Regions from separate parts of the Homo sapiens genome. Here all the other regions are linked to region 1. Evidence: promoter capture Hi-C in 16 types of primary human blood cells and fetal thymus (Javierre and others, 2016). All regions are on one chromosome and are shown on one strand. Each heading gives the region's core, a stretch centred on a gene start or on the middle of the fragment in contact. The rest is flanking DNA. Distances are from core to core; before and after follow the strand shown.

Region 1 (3,982 bases), core at 1,069-3,568:
AATGTTTAAGCTGTAGAAAGTATGCCTCTTTCCAAAAGCCTGTAGCTGGCCACAGATTAGTTCTGGGTGAAGCTTACTAATCATTAATGGATTTATGAAATTCAAACTACTTCAGAGTAAGCCTCCTGACAAGTAGGGAAAAAAATCCAGTTTTCTCATTCAGTTCTTTCCACCAAGCTAAAATGAGGATTCAATCTCAAATTGATGTTCCAAACTATCAGATAGTTTTAAATGATTCTAGAAGTTGAAGTGGAAAAATATAAATACAACAGCTGATAGTAATTCAAGACTGGCTTATGTCAAACAATTGCATTTCTAACCTGAGTTAATTCAATAACGTGAAATTTGAAATAAGATTTTTTTATCTTAAGTTTAAAATCATAAGGTTCTATAATATTGGATGTCAGTTGGTTGCAGTTCTCACCTATTTGAAAAAAAAATTGAAACTACTTGTCGCTAAACCATGGTAACTCAAAAACATTAAAGGCAAATATCTACTAAGGCACTATATTTCATTTCATAATTTATTTCTCCATCCCCCAAAAAAGGCATCACCTAGTTATTTATAGGACACTATCACTATTGCAACATAACAGAAAAATCTTAACATCATTGATAACTGTAGCATTTTAGTGTGTAAAATCTATATTAGATTTTAGGTGTCAAATCTATACTAGATTCTAATAGTGCACTCTACATTCAACCTCTGATTTAAAGAGTTTCATTTTAACCCAGCATTGTTTAAATTAATTTTAGGATGTGTTATGTCAGTCAAGATATACTTGCTTCTACTGAGAGACTTCTATTAAATATGCATTCAAGTATATATTTTACAAGGCATGACCTTGCGAGCCCTAAAGAGTGAGACTAAACTGCAGCTACAAATAAATGGTGCAGGAAATCAAAGCAAACTATATTCAGAGTCTAAATCCAAAATATGCATTCTGGTTCTTAAATTCCAGGTTTGGAAAGAAATGCCAACAGTAATAAATAAATAAACTGCTTTGAAAGCATCTCAAATTCCTCAAAAGTGCTTAAACAAAAGACTCAGCTTTGAGTACAACCTTAAGCTATCTCAAAACAAATAAACACACTTGATAAGGCTTAGAATGAAATTACCTCAGTCACTCACTGGAATGCAACAATGCATTCGCAAAGTTATTCTGAAGTAAGCTACTCCAACTAAACCACACTGAAAAGGAGAGAACGTGGATAAACTAAACATGTTTTGTGAAATACCTGTTTTGTATTGGCCTGAGTTTTTTAAAAGTTACATCTCATTCATTATCAGTATTTAATCTGCAAGAATATCATCAAAGGATGTCAATATGGACAAGCAGAGACAAGAAACATCAGACTTTCAGGGAGCCTATCTTCACAACCCTGAGTTATTAACTGAAGTTCTCAAAGTTAGATGAGTTAAGATACAGACAACGTGCTTTGCACAAATGCTTTGCTTATAGTAACCACTCAATAGTCATTAACAAGAATTTATTAACTATCCACCAAAACACAGTTTCAAACCCTACCGACAACTAACCACAAATTGCACCACTTTTCGGGCCGACTTCTACGGACGGTGCACAGAAGCAATAAATACACTTTTAAAACTCCCCAACTTGAAGACCAAAAAGATACAATAACTTAAACTGCTTTCAAAAACTACTGGAGTGTCATGCCTACAAATTCAGAACCTGGCTTAAAAGCTAGTTAACTGACTAGAATTCTTGGTAGACCCAAAGCCAACTAAATCAGGAACACTTAAAGGTCAAAGGCGTCCAAGCCGGGAGCGATGTGCTCCACTGTTACATGATCCCCGCCTCCTACAGGAACAGGGGACTGAACCAAAGGCAGTTGCGGCCGAAGTGCAGGCGACACACAGGGTTACACATCACCTTCGGAGATTTCCTCCAGGAATCAAGACGCTTCCCCCTTGGGTCCAGCGACTCACAGGTGACCCCGGATCTCAAGAGTTCTCGTCTCCCCCACCCCCCACTTAACCCCGCGAGCGCCGCCCTCGGCCCCCAGACCTCCCCCTGCACCCCCGGCTTCCGCGCACAGGACCGGCGGGGCCGCCGCTCCAGCCTCCACCCCAGGCCCGGGGCCTGGGGAAATGCGGCCCCGCGGCCCGCGCCCCCAGCCCGGCCCCCGCGCGCGCGGCCGGGACAGGATACTGAACACCGTCCGCTCCCAGGGCTCCAGCATGTAGAGCGCCGTGACCAGCAGGTACTGGTAGTAGAACCAGGACATCTGCTTCCAGGCCCGCGCCAGCGCCATCCCCGCCATGCGCCTCCCGCGATGCAGCTCACACGTCAGTCTGTCCGGCCGGCCGCCCGCTCACGTCCTAAAGCCCCCGGCCGCCAGGCCCGCCCGCCCGCCACCCAGCGCCCATTGGCCCGCCCGGCCCCGCCGTCACCCGCGGCACGCCCAGACCCGCGCGCGCCCCGGCCGCCGGCCCCCAGCCCCGCCCGACCCGCGCTCATTGGCCAGGCCGCTACCTCGCGTCGCGTCGTCCCCTCCCGTTTCCCCGCCCGGGCATCGCCCACGCTAGCCGGAGAACGGTCCCCGCGAGAGCGCCCAGCCGCGCCCCACCCCGCCCGGGCCGGCCGGTGGTGGGCGGGGCGTCAGTGCCGGCCGGGGTCCCGGGGCCCCCGCAGCCCAGCGGGCGCTCGGTCCGTCCAGACTGGCCCAGAGCGCTTGCGGAAGAAATATTTCTGGAACACTTGTTATGCCTCAGGCATCCTTCTGAGAAGGAGGATTGCCAGGGAGAACCGGAATGCCTTCGGTTCCTTACCTTGTGCAGCTGGCGGCCTAGCTGGGAGACAAGCATTAATCAAGTCGTGATCCGTGTAAGAGGAGATAAGGGGCTGAGAGAGGGTGAGGAGGCGAACGCCACCTAATAAGGAGGTCTGGAAAGGCGTCCTTGTAGAAGGGATGCACATTCGGCCTCCTTCCTCCCTTCCCCCACCCATGCACACACACACACACACACACACACACACACACACACACACACACACCCCTAGACGGACATAACCCATGCACTCCCTAACCCAGAGACCACTTACCAAAAACATCTATCTGCCCACCTCTTAGTGGCTGTAGGTAACCACCAAGTGGGTCAAGGCCAGAAGCGCGCTGATCTAGTGGGTTCTGCAGAAGACAGGCAGCTTGAGATTGGTGTGAGGGCTGGTGATACTTCCCTAGAGATGCACTCCTGGATGCCCAGATTTTCCCACTGCCAGATGGGCCAGCAACATTGCACTGGCCACAAGGAGCTCCATGCACTGGTGTAGCATGTGAACTGCCACAATTAAATGGCCTGCTGTTTAAATGTTAAAAGTCTTCCAGGTTAAACATACTACTGCTTAAACTTTAAAAGTTTCATGGTTAATAACTATTCATTAAAAGTACCAAGTGCCGGCCAAGCGCCGTAGCTCATGCCTGTAATCCAAGCACTTTGGGAGGCTGAGGCTGGCGGATCACTTGAGTCCAGAAGGTCGAGACCAGCCTGAGCAACATGGTGAAACCCCGTCTCTACCAAAAAAAATAAGTAAATACATAACAAAAAGTTAGCCAGGGGTGGTGGCGTGCACCTGTAGTCCCAGCTACTCAGGAGGTTGAGGCGGGAGGATTGCTCGAGCACGGGAGGTCGAGGTTGCAGTGAGCCAGGATGGTGCCACTGCACTCCATCTTAGGTGGCAGAGCAAAAGAAAGGAAAGAAAGGAGACAGAGAAAGAGAGGAGAAAACAGAAGAGAAGAGAAGAAAAGAAAGAAAACAGTAAGTAATATCAAGTGCCAGACATTGGGATAGCAAGCCAGATAGACTGAGACCTGCCTTCATAAAGTACCCAGTCTGCTGGGGAAGAGAGGCAAGTTAATGGATTACAGTGAGGTGTGGTAAATGATATTTTTGTGGATCGTATCCTTTAGGATACCAAGATAGCCCAGACAAAATCAGATTGGGCTTGTGAAAGTCTTC
Region 2 (3,982 bases), core at 634-3,133, 4.7 Mb after region 1:
GTCATTTGAATAAGAATAGAATTCGCTTCATTTCCAATAACCTTCCAAATGTATCCTGCCTATCCTTCTTGTGCAAACTGGCAGTACCTTTTTTTGGATGTCATACAGGCACCTCAAAAGTTCAACCTGCCCCGAAATAACTCATTATCTTACCTCCTTATTTTTTTCTTCTCCTTTATTTCCTTTTCTGATTAATAGTACCACCATCCAACCCAGCTGCTCAAGCTGAAAACCTGACGATAATTTTCAACTCCCACTCCCATCCTTAAACAAGGCCTACAGAATTCCACTTTCTAACTTTCAAATCTGTTATCTCCTTTTCTCACTATCCCTGTCTTAATCCAGATCTTCATCTCCTCCTGCAGTGACTCCCGTAATAAAGGATTTTCCCCCTACAAGGATCTTCCCTCTCTAGCCCAAACACTGGATTACTTTTCTAAAATGCAAATGGTCCACATCATTCCCTTCCTTAAAAATATTCCCTCGAAAAGATCCGAATTCTTTAATTACACAAAGCTTTCTAACTTCACCTCTCAATTCTTCTCACTCTCTATTCAGTCTAGTCCAAAGAAATGCTTAAGTGTATTTAAATCCACCACTCTTTCATACCTCTACCACTTTATCTTTGCCTAGGATACATTTCCTATCCCCACTCTCCACTCATTTTTTATCAATAGCATTAAAGAAAGGGCTCCTGACTTGAGCATGACTTTGGAGTATTTCTAAAATCCGTTACAACTCCATGATTCTACCAGCCAATACTCAGTGTTAACTATTCATTAAATCACTATTCCCTAAATACTGTGAGGCAGGAGTATTATTTTATTTAATTTATCTAGCAGTGTCAGCAGTGACAGGCCCACAATGATTGAATAAGGACTCCCACATATTAGAAGTAACCGCTACATACTATCACATTTCGGATTAAATTAGATTAAAAAAAAATCTCTACAAGGATGGGGCCATTGTTTCATTCACTACTATATCCCTGGCACCTAGAAATCGCTCTGACATAAGGGCACTAAATAAATACTTTCTGAAATAATTAATTTAAATTATGTTCCCTAATTATCCTAACGCCTGCAAACTTTCCTTTGCAAACTCAACCTTCATTAGGCTTCAGGTCTCAAGTTGTGTGGAGTTGTACTGAGCATTAGGAATGAGGAAGGAGGGACAGGCTTCTCAGGTTGGCACAGGTCTGTCCAGTGCATGGCTCAAGTGCTGGAAGTGCCAGCAAAACTAAGTAGGCTCTGCAGTTAACCCTCTCGTAAATAATGGCAGGGACAACACTAAAAGTACCAAAATCTGTGGCGTGCAAGACAAACGTACGGGAATAGACAAAAGAGAATCAAATAGAAGAAGATACGAAAGAGAAAACGATGAAAGATGACGGTTCAAAGGAGACAACTGACAGGTTCTAGGGTTTAGGACACCTGGAGGTGGACCATTTTGTGTACACCTCGGGAGGCGTCGGGTGGCGATGGGACAGGGGTTGAAGGAAAGCACTGAGGGGAAACAAGGTGTGTCACCGCAAAAGGACCTCAAGGTTGTGTGGCAGCACTCACCACCTCCCCCTGCTCCGCGGACTTGTACACTCCAGACACCATCTCGTTATGGAGAAGCAAAAACAACGCCTCATCCGCCATTTCCTGCTAATTCTTCCAAGCTTCGAGTTTTGGCTCCCGTTTGAGCTGGTCTGGGGGTTCCAGCTCGCGCCTCAGCGACTTCGCCGGCGCCGCGGCTCCGTCAGGCCGCCATTCTATCCCTGTGGCTAAGAGACCGAGGTATTCACACGACTTCCCAAAGGCTGGTACTGAAATGAGTCTGGTACTGGAGAGAGCCCACACTTCGGGGCTACCAAATCCTAGGGCCGAACTAAAGTCTGACGGGAGCTCTAACCAAAGCCAACCAGCTGAGATGCGATCCGGCCGCTGGGCGGGGGCGAAAAAAACAACTTCCGGTCCCCTCTACCCCGGCATTCGGCCAGCTCTATGATCACTGAGTTCCTCTCTCCCAAGCCCGGAGAGGCCAGCGCCCAGATATGAGGAAGGTTCCCCTCTCACCACGATGTCGGGGGCAGAGCAAGATAAAATAAGACCTAAAGCTCCCGCCTGGCCCGGGCGCGGTGGCTCACGCCTGTAATCCCAGCACTTTGGGTGGCGGAGGCGGGTGGATCACATGAGGTCGGAAGTTCGAACCAGCCTGAGAAACCCCGTCTCTACTATAAGTACAAAATTAGCGGGGCCTGGTGGTGCATGCCTGTAATCCCAGCTACTCGGGAGTCTGAGGCAGGAGAATCGCTTGAACTCGGGAGGCGGAGGTTGCGGTGAGCTGAGATCGCGCCACTGCACTCCAGCCTGGGCAACAAGAGTGAAACTCCGTCTCAAAAAAAAAAAAAAAAAAAGAGCTCCCGCGGCCACCTCCTTGTTAATTAGCAATAGAAGTTAAAAAAATTCTTTTGGCTTCATCAAAAGCATCCACTTCCTGCCATATGTTCTTCAAATATGAAAAGTTGTAGAAAGAGTTTAAAATATACGTTTTCACAGTGCAAATTTTTTAAATATTGAAAAGTTATCCCAATTCCTATTGAATTAAGCCCGGGTATACAAAAAGAATTAGAGCCATTTTGACCACCAGGAATTTTCCTGTTAGTGGGGTGCAAGGGACAAGGGAAGTGGAGCAAACGAAAAACAAGATACACTTGAACCGGAAAATACAGACTAATCAGAGGATTAGGTGAAAAGTGCTATAGAATTCAGAAAAGCGATGTCACTGCAGGATGGAGTTGCTAATAATCTACAGCAGTGTGAGACAACTGTAGGAATTGTCCCACTGCATGTGCAAATAAATACACATGCTACATCATAGTATGTACATCTTAAATTTGGCAAATTCAACCGTAAGCATGTTGCTTAGCCTGTGATTAGTTCTTCCATTGGTAATTCACAAAACAAAATTTTTCCCCAATTGTCCCTGTTGTTTTCCCCCAAATTAACATACCGCAAGGTGGCTCATGCCTGTAAAATCCAGCACTTTGGGAGGCCGAGGCACGGGGGGTGGGGGGGATCACGAGGTCATGAGTTTTGAGAGCAGCCTGGCCAACATGGTGAAAACCCGTCTCCACTAAAAATACAAAAATTAGCCGGGCGTGGTGACAGGTGCCTGTAATCCCAGCTACTCGGGGGGCTGAGGCAGGAGAATCACTTGAACCTGGGAGGCAGAGGTTGCAGCGAGCAGAAATTGTGCCACTGCACTCCAGCCTGGGCGACAGAGCAAGACTTCGTCTCAAAAAACGAAACACACACACAAACTCTTCATGCCCTTTCACAGGAATTTAAGATCATGTTCCAAAATTTTAATTGTGGTAGGTTTTTTTTTTAAGCATGTCCCTTCTAATGTTTGAATCAGTTTATTCCATTCATCACGTAAATCCAGCATAAAAGCTCCACTTAAGCCTTTGAAAACACTAAATTGTGTAATTTTGAAGAGTATTTTGCCATGGTAATCTTAATTTTTCCAGCACTAAATTTTCAGTTATGCGAAATCAGGTCCTTTATGTCTAGATGACATTCTTGCCCTCATCACTACCATCAAGAAAAAGGAGTCCAAGTCCACCACACAAGTCAAAAAGTAAGTAAATGGCCAATTTATCAAAGTTGACTTCTCCAACCACAATAACATGAGGCTTTTAAAGTACGTTTCTGGATAGAAAGGAAACTTATTTAATGAGGACCTACTAACTATTGAACACAGCATCCTACTTATCCTTCTCCATAAAGTTAAATTGCCAAGGCTCCTAGGAATAGATCCTATGGAAGCAAGGACAGTGAGTGTGGTGTGTGTGTGTGTGTGTTTTGAGACAGAGTTTTGCTCTTGTTGCCCAGGCTGGAGTGCAATGGCACTATCTCAGCTCACTGCAACCCCGCCTCCCGGGTTCAAGTGATTCTCCTGCCTCAGCTTCCCGAGTAGGTGGGATTACAGG
Region 3 (3,982 bases), core at 437-2,936, 3.8 Mb before region 1:
TTTTTTTTCTTTTTTGAGACAGAATCTCACTCAGTCACCCAGGCTGGAGTGCAGTGGCGCGATCTCTGCTCACTGCATCCTCCGCCTCCCAGGTTCAAGCAGTTCTTCCTGCCTCAGCCTCCCCAGTAGCTGGGATTAAAGGCGCCCACCACCACACCCGGCTAATTTTGTATTTTTAGTAGAGACCGGGTTTCACCATGTTGGCCAGGCTGGTCTCGAACTACTGACGTCAGGTGATCTGCCCACCTCTACCTCCCAAAGTGCTGGGATTACAGGCGTGAGCCACCGCACCCGGCAGAGATTATGTAATAAGATAACCTGTTTTAAATGTCACAAAAATAAATTTTTATTAATGAAAAAAGCCAGTGTTTCACACTATAAAACAATATATAATCGTTAGGCTAACCATTTCATTTATATAATTGTGAAAGTTAAGCTTTTGAGGTACAGAGTGATTTCATTTCAGAATTTGGTGCAACTTCATAATGAAGCGTCATCAATGAACTCGGGAAATGAGGTGTCATTGTGTATCCATTTTGGTCATACAGTAAAATCTATGGATTAAGTTAGAAATCATCTATCCCATATATTTTGCGGTCACGTGGCTTCAAGTGTACATTAAACCGCCAGCACAAGACCAGCCTGGCCAACATGGTGAATCCCCGTCTCTACAAAAAAAAAAAAAAAAAATTTAGCCGGGCGTGGTGACCCCTGCCTATAGTCCCAACTAGTGGGCAGTCTGAGGTGGAAGGATAGTTTGGGAGGATCGCTTGAGTCCGGGAGGTCGAGACTACAGTGAGCCGAGATTCTGCCACTGCACTCCAGCCTGAGCGACAGACAGTGAGATACTATCTCAAAAACAAAACAACAACAAAAACCAGCACATCAGCCTGGCCTGATGGTGTGCCCCTGTAGTCCCTAGCTACTTGGGAGACTGAAGCAGGAGGATCGTTTGACCGTCAGAATTTGAGGCTGCAGTGATCCCTGATTGCGCGCTCCAGCCTAGGCAACACACCCCACTACTGCTTGACTTCCTTCCCACGGCAAGGTGATTTTGCAATTACTACAAGGAAAGAGGAGAAATGCTAATTTCTCATTTTGTACCTCCCTGGATCCCGTGTCCATGCCGGCAGAACGCCACCATAAAGCTACACCTTTTTTTTTAAAGAGATGCGACTGAGAAATATGCCAGATCAGAGTAATGCTCCAATGCTTTCCGTTTCTCTGGAGAAAGGAGCAAAGGGAAGACTCCTGCTGCACTGAGAAACGAGAGCTAACGTTAAAATGTTGCCTGTGTTTCAGGAGCTTCATTTACTTCAGTCCTGTGGTCCTTATACTCCTAGAGCATTATCACCCTTTAAGTGCTCTGTAAGTCACCAAACCAACAGTTCAGTAATTAGGTTCTTAGCACTACACGCTCCTACCCTAACAGCTCAATTTAATGTTGCTACCATTTGAGAGAGTGTGGCTTGATTCGGTAGGATAAAAACTCTTAGTATTCGCCTAACATTACGGGCCACTGAATTAACCTGCACCGGGTCTCCCAGTTCTACCGAGAGTGGAGGTCTTCCTGGAGGAGGTGGGGTCCGGAACTCAGGCACACCCTTTGGCCCCGCCCTTCCGGGCTTTGCTTCCGGGGCGGTAAGGGCAGCCACGTCATCCCCCCGCTCCGCTCCCCAGCCGGGCAGTGGCTCGTGGGAGCCAAGATGGCGGCGGCGGCGGCAGCGACAGCAGCAGCAGCAGCCAGTATTCGGGAAAGGCAGACAGGTACTGACTTATTCTCTTCTCCTTGAAGCTTCGTGACTGCCCCGACGACATCCTTCTCCTCTGGTGCGTGCAGCTCAGAGACCGATCTCCAGGAGTTTAATCCAGTCCCTAGAACATCAAGAGCCCCTCCCCTTTGAGTTTTTGGGGAGAAGTTGCCATTAGCTTGAGGACTCGGTTCCTCCTGTGGTGCAGGAGAAGGAGCTTCAGCGGTGGGCGGATTGCTACGGCCCTGCTCTTGTCTCCTTCCTAGTGGGCATCAGAAGGCCATCACAACAAGATCTAGCAGCTGATAGCTTCTTATCTATGTTGCCACCTATGAGGTCTCCGAGTTTCTGTGCGTGGTTCAGTTCTCCTGGTTTTGATTTTTAAGAGAACTCCCATTTTCTGACACTCAGAGAATTTAGGTATTTTCACAGCGGCTTGCTTTGCGCCACTTCTCTACTTCGGACCAGTCTTTTGGGGGTACCTGCAGAAAAATGCCTGGTGATAAACATTTTCTCCTTCAGCTTGCTGGAAGGCATTGAAGAATGGCAAAACAAATGAATTAATAGCTTTCTCATTTTAATTGTTTGACACATTGTTTTAAAATAATATTTTATCTTCAATAGAGCATGTTTATATAGCTTCTATTTATGCAGAGAAATGTAAAAAGGCACATATTCTTCTCTTGAGTTTTGGGTTTTTTTCCGTCTTAGAAATTAGTTTTGCCTTACTTGAAAACTTCTCATGACAACTTGGTTTATACCTGTTAGCTACAAACTAAAGGTTTATACTTGTTAACTAGTTGTCTTAAAAGTTTTCAAGCAATTTATTCTGAGGAGCTAATAGAAATAAGGCATCAAGAATGTGCATACTTGGAATTCTGTTTCCTGAAATTATGCTCTGTTGGATATAAATATGAATAGGAAAATAAATTTATAATTCATATGACCTACAGAAGGGATTTGGGCTGTACTTGATTCCTTCCTTTGGCATTTAAAGAAAAAGTGATAGACTTCAATTTAGTAATGACACACAAAAGATACTGAGTTGCGTTCTGCTTTTCCCAGTAAATAATTTAGTATAACCTATCAGGTGAAGTCAGGCATAACTAAATATAGGGAAGTTCAAATAAGATTTGGGGCATACCTGCCATTCGTTGTATATGTTTAAACAAATGGAAGCTCCATTTGTTTTAATACTGTGTTTCTGATGACTATACTACATATTAAAATAACGTGTCAGTAAAACTGTACCAATACAAGAGAGCTTTTTGAAAAATAAATTTGCGTGGCCGTAAACTTGTATGCAGAAATTTTGTAGATCATTAAAATCTAATCGTTTGTATTTCTGCAGAAATAAACATAGTAAGATTTTACAGAATTACTAGGTAGTGCTAGATCTATTTTTTATCAAATTTTTACTGTCATTGAATTCTGCCTTATTTTCAGAGGAAGGTAAATCCTTGTATATATATTATAATGCAGAATTAGCTATTTCCCTCATGCCTATGGAGAATGTTTTGGGAGATAACTCACAGTCCTTAAATATTCTAGATACTAGAATATTTGGGTGGATGAGATAATAGTTGGCATTTATTGAGCATTTACTATTGTTAGGCATTGCATTAGGTGATTATGTATTATCTCCATTTTACAGGTGAGGAAAGTAAGATAGAGGTAAACTAACGTGCCTGTTTCTTGCTTTGCCTGCCTGAAAAATCTTTATTGGTCTCCTGAAAAATCTTTATTGATCTTTTGAAGGTCATCCCACAAGCCATCTCCTTTCTTCCTGGTTCACTGTCCCCTCTATCCATACCTTCAGTTCAATAGGTAGAATCAGTTGCCTCCTGCTCCGTGTTACTGTTGTTCTTCATTGAATGCGTCTTCGTTACAGGTTCTTGCACATCTTCCCAGCTTCTCAACATTGCAGGGTCCCATTAGTGTTCTCATCTAGCGCCTTAGCTTTCAGTATTATCTGTATGTTGATGATTCCCAGGTTTATATCCCTAGTCTGGCCGTCCCATCTGAACTCAGTCTACTCCATATCAGTTAATGGCAGTTCCGTCCTTTTAGTTGTTCAGGTCAAAAACCTTGAAGTTTTCTTGACTTGTCTCTTTCATGTCTCATGTAAGATCTTTCAGTAAATCTTGTCAGTTCTACTCTGAAAATACATCCAGGATCTGACTGTTGTCATTGCTATTCCGAGGTCCTGTCCACCATGAATTTCTGCAGTA
Region 4 (3,982 bases), core at 702-3,201, 3.3 Mb before region 1:
AATGAACTATTGACACAATAGCAACACAGATGAATCTCAAATGCGATATGCTAAGTGAAAGAAATCAGACTCAAAAAACTACGTATTGTATATATGATTCCATTTACATGACATTCTAGAAAAGTCAAAACTATATCAACAGAAAACAGGCCACCAAGTGCCAGGCATTGGGATGGGGAAAGGGTTTGAGTTCAAAGGGACAGCACTAGATGATGTTTCAAAGTGATGGAAATGTTCTGCATTTCAATTATAGTGGTGGTTACATGACTCATAGCAATGTACAATAATAAAAAGCTAACTTCCCCGTATGTAATTTAAACAAATTTAAGAAAAAGTTAACTATCATTCATAGAATAATCACAGCCCTCCCTGAATAATGCTAAAATGATACTTCTAGGCACAAAATTTTATATATAATTACAGTTGCTCAAAATTTTAAGCTTGCCAAGTATTTACCTCTTACATTACAGGTAGAAATTCTTCTTTTTTATTATCTTAACGTGAGTACTATATTATTAATATAATACCAATAGATTAGGAAGCCTATTTAGGAAACTTTAGGATCAATCAGTCTATACAGAACTCCTGTCAGAGTAGTCAACCACACAAGTGAGATTATGAAGAATCTTCAGATGACTCCAAATTAGGCACTGGTTTCCAAAATGCTACCTGTAAAGACATCAGAATCTTTCCCTGATGGAAGCAATAAAAAAAGGTTACATGAGGTTCCAAAGAGAAAGAATTTCCCTGGGAACTGTAATATTTTCTGTATTATAACTACCATATGCTTTTTTCACTTGAACTTGGGCCAAGATTTCAGAAGATTGGCAAAGACATGAAAGAATATAACTGTTTTTAAAAAAAATAAAGGGCATTATCTGTAGTAGAGATATTTTATAAAATAGTCTGTAAATCAGGCACTTCATTTTAAAAAAATGAAATATTTTAACTGAAAAACCTGAACACATCTGGTTTCTTAAAGACAATAAATAACGCAACATCTTTTGATCCATTTCATATTCCATTTTTGCCTCTGCTCCCAGCCTTGACTTTCTTGGTATTGCTGAGCTAAAAATAACTCCTGGTACAGCAGCTGAAAATTGTGGTTTTCCCTTGCAAAGAAAAAGGGGGTAAAGTCCAATTATAAGATGTAAGTTTGCTTTTCTCCAATTAAAATACACATACAAATTTGACTGCAATTCATTCAACACATCTATTGAATGCCTTTCTACACCAAGTGCTATGCTAAGTGTTGGGGGTGGGACACAAAGATGAGTAAGAAAGAGTTCACTGACTCTGAAGAATTCAATCTAATGATACAGTCAAGAACTATGCAAAGTACACTTACAAAGCGTTATAAAACACAATGTCATACCCATAAATAAAAATGATAAAAATCTATCTCTGATAAATTTTCCTTGTATTTTTCCTGTTGAAACTATTAAGAGTGGTTTTTAACTTTTTTTTTTTTTGAGACAAGGTCTCACTCTGTAGCCCAGGCTGCAGCACAGTGGTGCAATTTCGGCTCACTGCAACCTCCGCCTCCCAGGGTCAAGCAATTCTCCTGCCTCAGACTCCCAAGTAGCTGAGATTACAGGCGCATGCCACCAGACCTCTGCTAATTTTTGTATTTTTAGTAGAGATGGGGTTTCACCATATTGGCCAGACTGGTCTCAAACTCGCGACATCAGGTGATCCACCCGCCCTGGCCTCCCATAGTGCTGGGATTACAGGCATGAGCCACCAGTGGAGCCTGGCCTCTACATTTTTTTAGCTGACAGAAACTCTGGTAATCGTCACAAAAGCTCCCTGAATTTAATCACCTATGGACCCCCTGGAGTCCCAGGTAAACCCTCACAGACAGTGTTTCTCATTCCAGCACTTCTCTCTGCTGTCCACTGAAAAGAAGCACATACACAGTTGCTGTCTGTTTACAGGAATTCATTTAACTTTTTTTTTTTTTTTGAGACGGAGTCTCACTCTGTCTCCCAGGCTGGAGTGTGGTAGTGCAATCTGGGCTCACTGCAACCTACACCTCCCGAGTTCAAGCGATTCTCGTGCCTCAGCCTCCTGAGAAGCTGGGATTACAGGAATGTGCCACCACACCCTGCTAATTTTTCTATTTTTAGTAGGGAGGGGGTTTCTTCGCCATGTTGGCCAGGTTGGACTTGTACTCCGGAATTTAAGTCATCCACCTGACTCAGCCTCCCAAAGTATCGGGATTACAAGCATGAGCCACCGTGTTCAGCTCATTTATTTAACTCTTGAGGATTATACATATTTGATATATCAATGAACATTCCTTCTCCAGTAAAGGGTCAGGGCTGATCAACAAAAGTAATTCATTTCCCTATTACTCTGCCATTGGGTAGAAGAAAACAGGTCAATATAGAAAAGGCAGGTACAGGTCGGGCGCAGTGGCTCACACCTGTAATCCCAGCACTTTGGGAGGCCGAGGCGGGAGGATCACGAGGTCAGGAGTTCGAGACCAGCCTGGCCTATATGGTGAAACCCTGTCTCTACTAAAAAATACAAAAATTGGCTGGGCATGGTGGTGTGCGCCTGTAGTCCCAGCTACTCAGAAGGCTAAGGCAGAAGCATTGCTTGAACCCGGGAGGCAGAGGTTACAGTGAGCCGAGATTGCGCCACTGCACTCCAGCCTACACGACAGAGCAAGACTCCGTCTCAAAACAAAAAAAAAAAAAAGAAAGAAAAGGCAGGTATATTAATGGTAGAAAGTAAGGAAAGTACTTATTGATACTGTATCTGCTAAAAAAAAAAACAAAAAAGAATACAATACTCTTCCTCCTGCATACTAACAACAAGTTTCTCAACTCCACAAATACCTTCCATGGGCATTTTAGGCATTAGGTGGAAAACAGGTCCAATATAAGCAATCTCTTCAATTCACTCCTTCAGTATCTGGATATTAGCTATTTGTGTGCCAGGCACTATGCTTAGCAATGGGAAAACAAAGACGAGCTCGTAGTCCAGTGGAGAACTGAAAGTATAGTAAAGTGGAAGTAGTGTATACATGTGAGAATATGCAGGAGGGGTCTTTGAAGACATTTAAATTTGATCCTGTAGGTGAAGAACCCAACAGATTCTGTAAAAGGGAGTAGCACAGGCAAATCAATTTTTAAGACTATAACTCAGGGCCAGGCACCGTGGCTGGTCTCGAACTCCTGACCTCAACTGATCCACCCACCTCGGCCTCCCAAAGTGCTGGGACTGCAGATAGGCATGAGCCACCACGCCCAGTCCCAGCCCTTAACTTTTTACCATCAAACCCAAAACATGTGCATCTAACGTCTCTATCTTCTCTGTTACAACGGCAGTACACAACTTCTTTCTGCCTAAAACCAATCTCTCCACCAGTGGATCAGGGTTTTGCTACTCAAGGTGGGATTTTCTGACCAACAGTTTCTGCATAATCTAGGACCATATTAGAAATGCAGAATATCAAGCTTCATATAAGACCAACTGAATCAGAATATGCATTTTAACATGATCCCCAGGTGACTCTCATTATGCACATTAAAATTTAAGAAGCACTGCTTCTATACAAAAGCCAATTCTCTCCCAGTTTTTCAGAATCCTTACCCTAGGGATTATTCACTCTCTTTCTTATCTCTTTGACCTTTAAAAGAAAAAACCCCACACTCCTTTTCCAATTCAATTCTTCAAAAAAGTTTCCACATGTCCTCCATTTCATGTTCCACTCACTCCTCAACCCATTCAGATCTGCCCCTCACCACCACTCCACTCAGCTCTCATTAAGATCAATGACCTTGAGAATGTTGCTAAATCTAAAGGACATCTTTTCATCTAACCCCTACTTGACCTCTCACTAGTATTCAAAACAATTGCCCTTTCTCTTCTTGAATCACTTTCTTTCCTGTGTTGACATGCGCACTAATGATGCAAAAGCAATAGTGGATAAAACTGCAGGTGCTTTAACATGAATCAAGGCAGTAGCCCT
Region 5 (3,982 bases), core at 403-2,902, 3.0 Mb before region 1:
AAAGGTAAGTGTATTGGTTAAAGACAAGTAAAAAAATAATTTTTTTCTGTAGATAATATATTCATTAGTTTAATGTAGTTAATTTTAATTAATAATTTAAGAATTAAAAAGGTACTTTGGAGTCATGTATTTTCTGTGACTAAAGTCAGATACAATAATGAATAATACTAAAAAAGTGACCTAATCTAACATCCATAAATAGTGGAGGGAACTTAAGCTAGAATTCAGGTCTCCTGACTTTCAGGTGAGGAGTCTTTTCTTATTCTCCTATTCTATAGTCATCTAGGTAAAACAACTGCATTCCAAGGCACAACAAATCCATACTACAGTATTCTCCAACTGTCACTATTCTTATATTATAAATCCTGCCTGCTTATCAGTGAAGAAAAAAAAAAAGTCAATGGCATTAAAATGTAACACAAATCTCGGCTTCGATACTTTATCTAAAATTACTTTCTCAAAGACATACTTTCTAAAATGTTTGGAAAATTAAACAAAATTCTCCTCTCCCCATCCAACTAATGCTCAATTCTAACCACACTTCTGCTTTCCCTACAGCTTAAGTAATTTCACTGGGAGTATTTTCTCTGGAAGTTCTTAAGTGTACTTGTGGGCCCCTTTTTTTCCTCCTTAAACTTCTAATATCTTTCAGGCTGTAAATTCCTTAAGGGCGCCTAGCCCCAAAAAAGTGCTGCATATTTGTTCAATAAATGAATGCACATAAAAACAATGGATAACTATGACCTTTAATGTAGGAGCTCAAGCCATTTTATTATTATCTGACTTGACAGTCAAGAAAATTATCCCAACTTGCCAGAGGTATCCATTACTGTGATAAATAAACACTATAAAACGCTTTATAAAGTTTCTAAAGACTTTATAATCACTTGAAATAACGCCGCGTTGGCCGAGAGTAGGGTGAAAGAAAATGTTTCCTCACACTAAGCAAATGCCACCAAAGGAAAAGCTTTCTTTCCTGGAGAGAACTGCAACAGTTAGAAAGCAAATATCCACACTCTCCACTGCTCCCTTCTGGGAACTCTCTTTGAGGGTTCCTGCAGAAAACGAACGGGCCTCTGAGGAAGCTCGCCCGAAGGCCGGGCCGGGGCCCGGCTCCTGGCTGACCACTGGCGCAGCGGACGCCGCAGGGCGGGTCCCGGGAGCGGCGAGTTGGCGAGGCGGGCTCCGACTTGCTGACCTTCCCCACACGCCCGGCAACCCCGGCTCCCGCTGGCGGGCAGAGTCCACGCCTACCTGTTGTGCACAGGTGAAGCCAGACTTTCCCGTAGTCCAGGAGGAAGAACGGACCACGCTGTTTATCAGCCGACCCTGTGCCCCAGTCAGCCCCTTCTCGGCGGACTCCAGCCCTTAGGGTCAAGACACCTAGCCCCTCGACCGGTTCTCCCACCGGCTTCTTTCGCGATCACATTGCTGCCGCGACCACCCTCGGGATCCCCGAGCGCTCAACTCATACAGCGGCCCTGGTGCGTTCTCCTTCCCAGCCAACAGGCAGCCCAGACACAGCCCCCTCGCGCCCGGAGGTGTCCCCGCTCCCTGGATCCCCGACTGCCTGCCTTTGGGGGTCCTCCTCAGCTGAGCGTGCGTCCCGGTCCAGCAACGTTACCGGCTGCTCTGCTAACCCTAGCAGAGTCTGGAATTGCCGGCGGCGGCGACAGCGAGGCATTGAGGTGGGCGGGGCGCGCGTGGGGCGTGGCCGGAAAGCTCTCAGCGGCGAGCACCGCGGGAGCTAGCGATTGGGAGCGCGCCCTGCGCCGGGCCGCTGGTCCAAGGCCCCGCCAGCTGGCCGCCGAGCCATCGAGCGCCCACTCTGGCAGGCGTGACTGCTTCACCGTCGAAAGAGCGATGGAGACTGCGGCCCAAGTTAGGATTAGGACAGCGGTTTTTCAGTCCGGAGATTCCGGCCACAACTATTTTTGTCTGTTTTTATCGTAAGCCAGAGTCTTTGGGTGCAGCTCTGGGACACCTAAAGGGCCTGGAGAAATTCAGGCGGGGCCAGTGCTGTGGGGGTAGATGTTAGACGTGGAAGGGACCCTAGAGAGCCTTGACTGTGAGGACTGAGGTAAAGTGACTTGCTCAAGGTCACATACTAAGTCAATGGCAGAACTGAGACTAATAGCCTCTTACCTTGAGTCATGTGCGTTTTCCCACTACACTCAGCGTTTTAAATGTCATTTTTCAAGTTTCATTTTGAATCTATCTCCAGCTTACAAAAAGGTTGCAAGTATAGTACAAAGAACTTTTTTTCCCTGAATTGAGATTTAAATTGCTGACACCATGCCACATTGTCCCTAAGCACCTTCTACATAATCACAATATAACCATCAAAATCAAAACATTTACATAACTCGGCGTTTTACCAATTGTCCCAATAATATTGTTTATGGTAAAAGATTCCGTTCAGAATCAGGCATTGTATTTACTTATCATGTATCTTTCCTACTCTTCAAACTGGAACTCTCAGTCTTGCCTTGCCTTTCATATTCTTGACGCTGTTAAAGATTCCTGGCCAGTTATTTTTGTAGAATGGCCTTCATTTTGGGTCTGTCTGATATTTACTCATGATTACATTTAGCTAGGTATGACAGGACTCTAGAAGTGTTGCTGCTTTCTTCTCATGGCACCCTATCAGGTGGCACGATTTTAACTTCTCTCATTACAGATGTTTACTTTAATAAGGTGATGTCTGTTAGGCTTGTCCAGTGTGGTTACTTTTTTCCCCCCTTTGTAAATTAATAAGTATTTTGTGAGGGAGACTCTGAAACTCTCCTTTCAAGATATTTGTAAATATCTTGTTTCTCATCAAATCTTCAGTTAATGTATTTATATTAATTAGTATGGATCCAGAGGTTTCTATTTTGTTAAATGACTTATAATCCGTTTCTTTCTCTCTTTTCTCTCTCTCTTTTTTTTTTTTTTTTTCTTGAGACAGGGCCTCCTTTGTTGCCCAGGCCGGAGTGCAGTGGCTATTCACAGGTCGATAATGCAATCATGGTGCACACTACAGCCTTGAACTTCTGGGCTCATGTGATCCTTCTGCCTCAGCCTCCCAGGTAAGTAGCTGAGACTGCAGGCATGCACACCACCACACCAGCCAATATTCTGTCTCTATCATTATTTATTTTGATGCTCAATTATCCCAAGTTTGGTGGGTAGGGGCCCCATTCATTCTATCTTCTGTGATATGTGTGTGTGTGTGTGTGTGTGTGTGTGTGTGTGTGTTCAATTTTTTTTTAAGACAAGAAGACAAGGTCTCATATTCATTCTAGCTTCTGTGTTGTGTGTGTGTGTGTGTGTGTGTAATTTTTTTTTTTTTGAGACAAGAAGACAAGGTCTCACTCTGTCACCCAGGCTGGAGTGCAGTAGTCTGATCACAGCTCACTGCAGGCTCAACCTCCTAGGCTCAGGTGATTCTCCCACCTCAGCCACTCAAGTAGCAGGGACAATGGGTGTGCCACTGTGCCTGGCTAATTTTGTTTGTTTGTTTTTGTTTTTGTAGAGACAGGGTTTCACCATTTTGCCCAGGCTGGTCTCGAACTCCTGGGCCCAAGCGATCCACCCGCCTCAGCCTCCCAAAGTGCTGGGATTACAGGTGTGACCCACTGTACCCAGCCTTAAATTCTCTCTCTCTTTTTTTTTTTTTTTTTTGAGACGGAGTCTCGCTCTGTCACCCAGGCTGGAGTGCAGTGGTGTGATCTTGGCTCACTGCAGCCTCCGCCTCCCGGGTTCAAGCAATTCACTGGCCTCAGCTCCTGAGTAGCTGGGATTACAGGCGTGTGCCACCATACCTGGCAAATTTTTGTATTTTTAGTAGAGACGGGGTTTCACTGTGTTGCTCAGGCTGGTCTCAAACTCCTGACCTCATGATCAGCCCGCCTCGGCCTCCCAAAGTGCTGAGATTACAGGCATGAGCCACCGCGCCTGGCCCCAGCCTTAGATTCTGTAAACATTTTATTGTAAAATA

Evidence for each region. Contacts are between HindIII fragments. The CHiCAGO score rates a contact against its expected background, and 5 or more counts as called.
Region 2: the fragment with the promoter of TRAPPC6B here is called in contact with the fragment with the promoter of SPTSSA in region 1 in 2 of 17 cell types (monocytes and naive B cells); the score reaches 12.0 in monocytes.
Region 3: the fragment with the promoter of SCFD1 here is called in contact with the fragment with the promoter of SPTSSA in region 1 in 1 of 17 cell types (M1 macrophages); the score reaches 7.4 in M1 macrophages.
Region 4: a contact is called between a fragment that was not itself captured here and the fragment with the promoter of SPTSSA in region 1, in 2 of 17 cell types (total B cells and naive B cells). The highest score is 6.1, in total B cells.
Region 5: a contact is called between the fragment with the promoter of HEATR5A here and the fragment with the promoter of SPTSSA in region 1, in 1 of 17 cell types (M1 macrophages). The highest score is 5.3, in M1 macrophages.

What each region holds. Positions count from the first base shown.
Region 1 is chr14:34,459,922-34,463,903 of GRCh38, forward strand. It overlaps SPTSSA (serine palmitoyltransferase small subunit A), which reads right to left and starts at 2,319. Exons shown (of 2, transcript NM_138288.4): 1 at 2,175-2,319. The coding sequence starts at 2,286. RefSeq lists enhancers at 1,532-1,641, 2,182-3,132 and silencers at 2,042-2,211, 2,332-2,841. The HindIII fragment of the contact is 5,560 bases long and covers 71-3,982 here.
Region 2 is chr14:39,168,450-39,172,431 of GRCh38, forward strand. It overlaps TRAPPC6B (trafficking protein particle complex subunit 6B), which reads right to left and starts at 1,884. Exons shown (of 6, transcript NM_001079537.2): 1 at 1,566-1,884. The coding sequence starts at 1,646. RefSeq lists enhancers at 1,342-1,931, 1,691-1,740, 2,522-3,111. The HindIII fragment of the contact is 6,900 bases long and covers 1,665-3,982 here.
Region 3 is chr14:30,620,633-30,624,614 of GRCh38, forward strand. SCFD1 (sec1 family domain containing 1) reads left to right here and starts at 1,687. Exons shown (of 25, transcript NM_016106.4): 1 at 1,687-1,767. The coding sequence starts at 1,707. RefSeq lists enhancers at 1,021-2,220, 1,290-1,969. The HindIII fragment of the contact is 1,359 bases long and covers 435-1,793 here.
Region 4 is chr14:31,194,067-31,198,048 of GRCh38, forward strand. The region is part of intron 2 of HECTD1 (HECT domain E3 ubiquitin protein ligase 1); the gene reads right to left. Among named protein-coding and RNA genes, the nearest start is that of HECTD1, 12 kb to the right of the region's middle. The HindIII fragment of the contact is 3,027 bases long and covers 439-3,465 here.
Region 5 is chr14:31,418,898-31,422,879 of GRCh38, forward strand. It overlaps HEATR5A (HEAT repeat containing 5A), which reads right to left and starts at 1,653. Exons shown (of 36, transcript NM_015473.4): 1 at 1,575-1,653. HEATR5A-DT (HEATR5A divergent transcript) reads left to right here and starts at 1,861. Exons shown (of 4, transcript NR_110045.1): 1 at 1,861-2,080; 2 at 2,947-3,071. RefSeq lists a silencer at 1,114-1,233 and enhancers at 1,344-1,393, 1,824-1,973. The HindIII fragment of the contact is 6,619 bases long and covers 966-3,982 here.